Regions from separate parts of the Homo sapiens genome. Here region 1 is linked to region 2. The links are contacts of gene promoters, found by promoter capture Hi-C in human tissues and cell types (Jung and others, 2019). All regions are on one chromosome and are shown on one strand. The core of a region is centred on a gene start or on the middle of the fragment in contact, and the rest is flanking DNA. Distances in the headings are between cores, read along the strand shown.

The links. Contacts are between HindIII fragments. The study calls those that stand out against the background at their distance.
Region 1: a fragment that was not itself captured here is called in contact with the fragment with the promoter of SNX13 in region 2 in 1 of the 25 tissues and cell types used here (dorsolateral prefrontal cortex).

The regions. Positions count from the first base shown.
Region 1 is chr7:18,582,594-18,587,131 of GRCh38, forward strand. It overlaps HDAC9 (histone deacetylase 9), which reads left to right. Exons shown (of 26, transcript NM_178425.4): 3 at 2,688-2,929. Among named protein-coding and RNA genes, the nearest start is that of HDAC9, 89 kb to the left of the region's middle. The HindIII fragment of the contact is 4,006 bases long and covers 1-3,880 here.
Region 2 is chr7:17,937,617-17,942,012 of GRCh38, forward strand. SNX13 (sorting nexin 13) reads right to left here and starts at 2,878. Exons shown (of 26, transcript NM_015132.5): 1 at 2,668-2,878. The coding sequence starts at 2,679. The HindIII fragment of the contact is 14,565 bases long and covers 1-4,396 here.

The DNA.
Region 1 (4,538 bases), core at 628-3,127, 640 kb after region 2:
AACATTATTTTTAATGAATGCGTAGCTTTTCTACCAAATGGATGCGACATATTTTGCTGAGACATTTCCTTGTAGTTGGTGATTTCAATAACAATACTAGAACTCTAGTAAATAATACGACATTGAACTGTTTTTTTCCCTATTCAGTATTGTCTCCTGGAGATATAATCCTAGAGTTGGCAAACCTGAATCAAATGGTAGAAATATGTAACACTTCTTGATACGTATTACCAAATTGGTTTTGCATAAGTTTTGTACCAATTGACAGCTCCACTTGCCATAAATAATCGTCTCTTTGGTCATACGCTTAGCCTATACAATGGGGCATTGTACACATATATGTATACACGTGGGTCATATATATGATAATAATCAATGATGCTCTATTTTGATTCATAATTTGCAATTCTTTACTAGTGAAGGTGATTTTCAGTTGTTGCATTCTTTTATTTGTTTTGATCTAGATGTTTTAGTATTTTTATTTTCTAATGTTTAGTAGAAATTGTGTGCCATTTTATTTTTATATTTGTTTCTAATATGTTTGTTTTGTTAGCTACTTACTATTGATGGTTTATTTTAATATATAAGAAATTTCCATTTCATATAATAAAAAAGCAAAAACAAACATCTGTTAAGGGCTGTGCTACATGCTATTAGTACTTACTGTTACTATCTCCAAGTTACGGATGAGGGAACAGAGGCCTAGGGAAATTAATAACATCTTCAATGTTACACACATGAAAGAGTCAAATAAGCATTTAGATTATAGAACAGAATTTGAAAACTGGTACATGTAAAGACTGAAGCATTTTGTTTGGTTCCTGGAGTATTTAAAGCTTTTGAAGAGCCTGGTGCTGTGACTCATGCCTATAATCTCAGAACTTGGGAGCTCAGGCAGGAGGATCACTTGAGGTCAGGAATTCAAGACCAGCCTTCGCGACATAGCAAGATAATACCCCAGCTCCCACTGCCCTGACCCCAGCTATAAAAAAAAAAAAAAGAAAGAAAAATTTAGCTGGTCATGGTGATATGCACCTAAAGTCCCAGATACTTGGGAGGCTGAGGCAGAAGGATCCCTTGAGCCAGGAAGTTCTAGACTGCAGTGAGCTATGATTGCACCACTGCACTACAGCCTGGACGAAAAAGTGAGCCCTCCAGCAGCCTAAAAAATCTTTCAGTTTAATTTTCAGTTAACAGTTATTTCTGTCTACACTGGATCTGTATTTTCTTTTTCTCCCACAACTCCCACAAATAGTTGGTTTTATCTGAGTAGTGACTGGCCTCTTTTGAAAAGCCATGCAATCCAGTTTGCCACAGTTTCCCCTCCAAAATTCCTGTTGTCTTTAGCTTAACCTTTTACACTGAACTACAGAATTTTCCCGATTCTTGTGGGTAAGGGTCATACTCAAAATATTTAACAACCAGTTTGGCATGGATGCTGGTCATTCAAAATGTCAGAATGGACACCAACAATAAATAAATGGTACACCTGGATATCCTGTCTGTGAGTTTTCCTGCTTAAACTATTCCTTTAGAAAGCAGCATTCTTTTTTTTTTTTTTTTTTTTGAGACAGTCTCGCTCTGTCACCCAGGCTGGAGTGCAGTAGCGAGATCTCGGCTCACTGCAAGCTCCGCCTCCCAGGTTCACGCCATTCTCCTGCCTCAGCTGGGACTACAGGCACCCGCCACCACACCCGGCTAATTTTTTGTATTTTTAGTAGAGAAGGGGTTTCACCGTGTTGGCCAGGATGGTCTCGATCTCCTGACCTCGTGATCTGCCTGCCTTGGCCTCCCAAAGTGCTGTGATTACAGGCGTGAGCCACCGCGCCGGGCCCTGAAAGCAGCATTCTTATCTACTAAGAGTTTTTGCTAAGAATTTTATATCTATTATCTAATTTAATTTGTATAAATTTAAATATTATCATCTGTAGTTATTCTCAGATCATCAAATCTTTTTTACTCCAGTGGTTTGATTAAATACTTGTTTTAAGTTTCCTCATACTTTTTCCACCTTGTTTATTTTAGGAATGAGGTAGCTGAGATACAGATTATTACCAATTCAACATCAGGACTTAGAAACTTGGCTACTTTCACTCCTTGTTGTTTGGATCTGGCACCATTGCTGTGGTTAATTACCATTTTCCACATTTTAGCATGCAGTTGTCTATTCTGTCTTTGGTACATCCAATAGTGCTGCAAATACGTTATATTACAACCTTTACTTTGTAAAGTTGAAGATATCTTCTGACGCTGATTACAAAGGAAGATGTTCTTAAGTGTACAAATGTAGTCATGGTGGAAGTTCTCTCTTAGGGCATCTTTTCCTCAACATAATTCCATTTTTTTTTTTGTCCTCGTTGACTTGATTTTTGTTAGTGGTTCAGTAGAATAAGTTTTATGAATGACTGATACCAGTAAACAATTGAAGTCACCTGTTTGTAAAAGGAAATTGTGGAGGATTCATGGCAGAGTGCAAATTGCTGAATGAAAATTAGCCTATGGCCCATTTATCAAAACTAATGTACAAATGACTTTATATCATCATTGTAAAGAAATGGCTAGAGTCATTGGCATAAAATTTGTTGTACAGGGTCTTATACTTTTTATTTGTTTCCAAATCAATGTGCTAATTTCCAATCTTCTATTACCCTCCCCCACCCCATTTCCCTTTTTTTCTGGTTCTTTAGTGGATGTGAAGTCAGAAGTTCCTGTGGGCCTGGAGCCCATCTCACCTTTAGACCTAAGGACAGACCTCAGGATGATGATGCCCGTGGTGGACCCTGTTGTCCGTGAGAAGCAATTGCAGCAGGAATTACTTCTTATCCAGCAGCAGCAACAAATCCAGAAGCAGCTTCTGATAGCAGAGTTTCAGAAACAGCATGAGAACTTGACACGGCAGCACCAGGCTCAGCTTCAGGAGCATATCAAGGTAGCAAATGCTTCTTTGTCTGTGACCTTACTCAGGAGTCTGCACCGTGGTGGGCATGAACAGTGCCCATGGGAACACTTTGCGGGTAGATTCACTGTGATTAAGACATGGATATATGGCTTGAAGGGAATTGTGATTTTACTAGTGAAAACTTTGGGTAAGTACCTGTTAAAAACCTGTTTTGCTTCTCAGAGGGACCTTCTTTATCCTTTAGCACATAGAATCAATAGCAGGGAATAGTAACTTCCTATCCTAATTTTAGATTCTCTCCTACGTGATTTTGTTCATTTGCCCCATCTGCTCTCCACCAAGAAGAAGCATGAGCCTAGAAGACCCATTTCATATTTCATTTCTGAAGAGTCTACATGTACTATTTGTGAGAAAGGATAAATTAGTCACCTTATATGAAGAGAGCTGTTTTTAAAAAACAAACATGGTGTATAAGTAGATGTTCTGAGTATGTCCGACTCTTCCTTATAGAAAAGATCTCATAATGTACACATTCAAAATAATAGTATAATAAAAAGCTTAAGGGAGTTATAAATGGAGAAACTGGTGCAAATGTTTTTATAGACTGTAGATAAGAATTTATTGAAAGTATTTGGGAGTAGTTGACAATTTGAGACTAAAGTTGTTTAAATTATTTTAGCACAAATATATCCATATTCCAGAATTTTTAATAATAACTTATTTTATTATCTAATAATATTAGATGTGTCTGTTTTTTTAAATTTTGTATCTTCAGAGATAAATATTACTTTAGCTTTATTTGTAAAACATCTTGCAACTTCTTGACAAAGACAGTTGAAACAAGGCTATTTAATTTGAATTTATTGTGACAGAAAAGCAGCAAAGATTTACAACAAAAATTTTATTTTTATATCTAACTTTCAAAGATGACAAACACTTGCTAATTTGTGAATGTAATAAATTATGTTATCTCATACTTTATTGTTTTGTATTATAGGAACTTTATTACTTGCATATCAAGTACAAGCACATTGATAGAGGGTTGATACAGATAACTGATGTTACTAGTATGTAATTTTACCACATTAATATGACAGTTTCTAAGGAAGTAAAAATGCTATCTTCTTCTCTATATTACTTGGTTTACAAGATGTTTCTTAATCCTAAAAGAACTTTATTATCGTATATTCCTAAAAAGGCTCTTTGACAAGTGATATAAAATATATTTATTTCTTTTAGTAGTGAACTTTCCAAAAAGAACTCTTGTATATTATTGATGTACAAAATACCTTAAAGTGAGAGTATTTTCTTTTGTCCCAAATGGAATCAGTAGCTCATGGCTACATTTTGAAGTATGGGTAGCCTTTCTTTAGTTTTTAGACTTATTTTTGAATGAATACTGAAGCTTTATTTAAATTTGACCTTTGAAACAATAATAGAAACATTGATATCTAGATCTGTTTCTTTCCTTCCAGCATGTTAAGATGGCAAAGAGAAATGAGTAAAATGTACATTTTTCACCATACTTTAAGATGTAAGGGACTGTGTAGTTCATTTTGCTGCTTTAAGTGAGACATGTTTCCCTAAATACAGGGCAATACTGATAAGTTACTGCTTTAGATACTTCTTTTCATTTATA
Region 2 (4,396 bases), core at 1,628-4,127:
AGTATCCTCACCTTGGTTAAAAAAAAATAAAAATAGTATGCTGATTTTATCAGCTACAAAGAAAATTAATGATGCATTCCACACTGAGTCATAAAAAGCACACAATGTGGAATAAGAGGACCTAAATATGATTTCTGTCTCCTCCATTCTTTATACAACTCTAAGTAAGCTCTTTCAACTTTCTCAACCTGTTTTATCATTGGTTAATGGGGATATCACCTACCTCAGTGTTGAGATGTAAAGAATCCAGGCACATACTACAATTCACCACTTTCTGAGCACAGTAAATGCTTGCTGAGCATGACTAATATAAAGACAGGAGAATCTTTCATAGCACAGCTCATCACTACACATTTTGAGACCTAACATGAATTAAATCACATCTCCTAAAAGCTGCTGATCTAAGTCAGCAATGTCTAGCAGAAGCAATAAAAAGGAAGTCTCACACTAATTTTGTAGTAGCCAATATTGAGTGAAATTTTATATCTAAAATATCTCAAAATAGGACTAGTTTACGAGGCTTAGAAGCCTTGTTTAAAAAATGAAAAGGAAAAAAAGCTAAGGTAAAGCAGAAAGTCTTTTTTAAGTAATAATCATTTTCAGTTTACTGACAATATTCAGACAAGGAAGTACAATAGCATGTTTTAAAATCTATCAAGAGAGCTGAAAACTACTTGAGAGGCAGCTGAGCAAAACGGTCAGAGCTCTCTACTGAGAGTTAGGAGATGAGATTCCAGTTTCGACTGTCACTAATATTTAATAATTGACCTTGGACAAGAGTCTCTGGCTTCAGTTTCCTAATCTATAAACGACTACTGAAAACTATAGGGAAGACTTTAGTACAATTTAATCTGGGTCTTACTTTGGCGAGGCAATCTAGAAAAGTTAACAGAATGGGCTAGGTGGCAACTGCCAAGGTTGGAATCCTGCTTCTGCCACTTATAAGTTGTGCAGTGTTCACACAAAAAGTACTAAAGTACAGTTTACTTAATATTATCATTGATTTACTGTTTAAAATATTTCCCTAAAACGCAAAATTGCATTAAAATACAGAAGCTGAGAAAGCTCCATCTTTCCAAATCATTTTACTGGCAGACACACAAGTAGTTCATTTGAAAGTATTAAAACTCTGAAACATGTTAACATAAGCTAAGTTTAAGGAAAAGATCATATCATATAATATTACACATTAGAGACAACACTAAACACTTATTATAAGGCTAACTGTTCCCACTAAAATATCACACTTAAGGTAAAAATGAAACTTCTGCTACTTATAACTCTTTTTTCTAATCTATTACTGCTAATCACAACACAAACTTATGCTATAACCATAATCTCAATTAACTCCAAGAATGAAAAATCTGTAGAATTTAGAAATATAAAATGAACTTCAAACAACTAAAAATACGTACTGTAGAAGTTACAATCAACCAGTAAGTATTTATCATATGCCAGGCTCTGTGCTTAGATTAAGTACAAACAGCAAAGTATAAAGTTCCTCAAAGTTAGTCACGTTCCAAGGACCTGAAATTTCAGGCAAGTACGTGCTTTACCATCACTTTTCACAAAATAAAAGCCACTCACCTACAAATGTTTGTATTTCCTTTTTGGCCCATGTAGGAATACTTCCCATTGCCCACTAAAACTGTTTCCTATTCAGTTCAGCCCATAAAAATGCCCAATCCGGTCAGTTCCTCACGTCAGGATCCTCACAGTACTTAAAGTGAAAGGCTTCGAAAAAGGTATTTCATCAAATCACAAGGTTCAGTATTTTATGTTCAGTGACACCTACACCTGCAGATACTACAACACATAACTGGGCTAACCTGGGTCAAGTACCTAGTTGCACCGATTTAGTTCTTCCCCTTAAAGTGTTGCTAGTAAAGGCAAACTCTACTTCTTCAAAAAGTCGGCTTTTTGCAATGCCCATTAGGCACTAGAAAAGGGAAATTGATTGGTTCGTCATAGTTGCCCTACTTCCATTTCAGGTCCAAAGAAAAAAACTATTCCATAGGGAGTAACAAGGGGGCCACACGCAAATCAAGGTGGCAGATGCTAAACTGAACTTTGTGATGACCACGATTTAACCGAAAAGGTGATGGATGTGGGGGAGGGGGATGACCCAACTGAGCCATACATGTGCAGCTTGAGATAAAAAAGTCCACTTCATGAAGCAGTCAAAGTAGAGGGTGGGAAACAAACCGGTCGGGCCGAGCAACAACCCCAGGGTGCTGACCGAGCTCGGAGGCGGAGGGCCCTGGAGCCCAGGGACCAGAGAAAGGAGACCTAGGGCAAACCATAGGATCACAAGAACCAGCAGTAACGTGGAAAGGCCAACGCTGCCACAGAGTAGCGTGTAAGGGGACACGAAGAAGGGAGCGATGAGTTAGAAGGGAGTGACAGCAGGAGGGAGACCAGTGCCAGGGGCGAGTGGCAAGTGGCAACTGCGAAAGGCGAGGCACTGGCAGCCGGAGGTGGTGGGACTCTGTTGAGTCAGCACAGCTCCTACTCTGAGGGCACTTGTAGGATCCCCGCTGCTCCTCGGGCCCTGGAGCCCACGGCGAAGGGTCAGGCCCACCTTCCGTACAGATGATGTTCTCTGACGGGCTGGCGCCGGCCCCTTCCCCATTTCACAGGTAAACACTGGCCACCGTCGCCGCTTACCTCAGTTAACATTATTACACCCCGGGGAAGTGAGGTCCTCCCTAGCCTCGCCTCATGGCAACAGCCGTAGCAGCAGCGAAAACTGCTCGGGCCGCCGCCAACGGCGGCAACTGCTCCTTCAGTCTTCTCCCGGGCGGCGGTTTTACTCGGCTTCGCTGGCCTCCCCTCGGCCCGGTCGCTCGCGACGGACGCGCCGCCATCTTGGAAGAGCGACGTCCGCGTCTCGCTGCAACGTGCGTTCCCATTGGCGGGCGCAGGGGCTGCTGGCGTCTCGTGACCGTCTCCATAGCGCCGGCGCGCGGAGAAGCGGAGGTAGGCTGTCGGCAGTCGGCTTGGCGCTGACTTGTAGGACCCCGGGACCGGGCGCCTGGGCCAACTTGGGACCGCTGGGAGTGCAGAGGGGCCCCAGCGCCCGAGCCTTCCGGGAATGGACGTGCGCGCCCTTGGGGCCGGCGCATCATCCACCGCCCACTAGCGTTGGCCCGCCCTGGGGAGAGGAGAAAATGCCAGAGGCCGACACTTGACTGATGGCGCTGCGGACCTCGCTGGTCTTGGGGACAAGGCGGCAGATTTCCTTTAGAAAAACTTCCCTCTCGCGTCTCCCTGGCCCCGCGGCGACCGAAGAGTTGGGGTTCGGCTTTCTTCTCCTGGGATTTAAGTGTTATTTGAAACAGCTCCCTGCGCGGCCCTTTTCTCCTAAACTTTGACAGAAACTTCCCTTTGTCCCTACCAATCCTCAGTGAGTTCTTTACAGGGGTCCGAGACAGGTTGTAGATATGATGCGGCTTATCGGCTTTACCCCGATCCTAGCGGAGTTAGGACTTGCTGATGTAATTGGCCAGCACCTGCCTAACAATGAAGGTTTAGTTATGCTACAAGTAATGCACCTCTAAAAAAACGTAAAACAGGCTTTACGTTTTACCTGCTATCTCCACAGGTTTACTAGCTGCTTAATACAATATGCTTGTATATCAAGGTGAGCAAATTTCAGCAAATGTCATTGTAAATAGTCCCAACTTAAATGGAATTGAACTCTGGAACTCAATGTGCATAGAAGTCCCTGAGACTGACGCCATTCTAGATCTACCACTAGATGGTTTGCGATGTACGGAATTAAAGGCAGTCACTTCTACCTGAATTGTGATGAAAGTAGTTTACCTGAACATGCTGGGAAAGTGTGCTACCCTGTTTTGTATTAGAAACCAGTTTCCAAGTAAATTGAAAAGCAAATTTTCAGACTTGACATTAAAAACACCTCCATGTCATTCTTACAAGAGGTACAAAAGCATTTTAGAAAACTAAAGCCAGGAGTTTCTTCCCTTTTACCAGAATCTTTTCCCTCCATTTAACAATAGTACTGTTGTGCTAAATGAAATTTACTTAATGTATTACTCTTACAGTCTCAAAACAATAAGGGCATTGCAAACCTTGTATTATCTCTATCGTGTCAAGGAAACAAAACGGTTCATTTAAGCAGTCATGCAAAAAATTCAAGAAAAACTGATTTTGCTCAATTCAACTAATTGAAGCAAAGTAGTTTTTCTTGTTGTTTTAATCTGCATTTTGTACATCATTTCCACATTGCTGGACCAGCAAAATTCTGACCTCTGCAATACAATAAAATGTGTTACTGGTATTGACAGATGAAGCCACAAATAGAAAATGAGCATGGAAATCCTACCTGGACTGAGGTATCAAAGGATACCAAGAGATACTAGAGACAACAAGG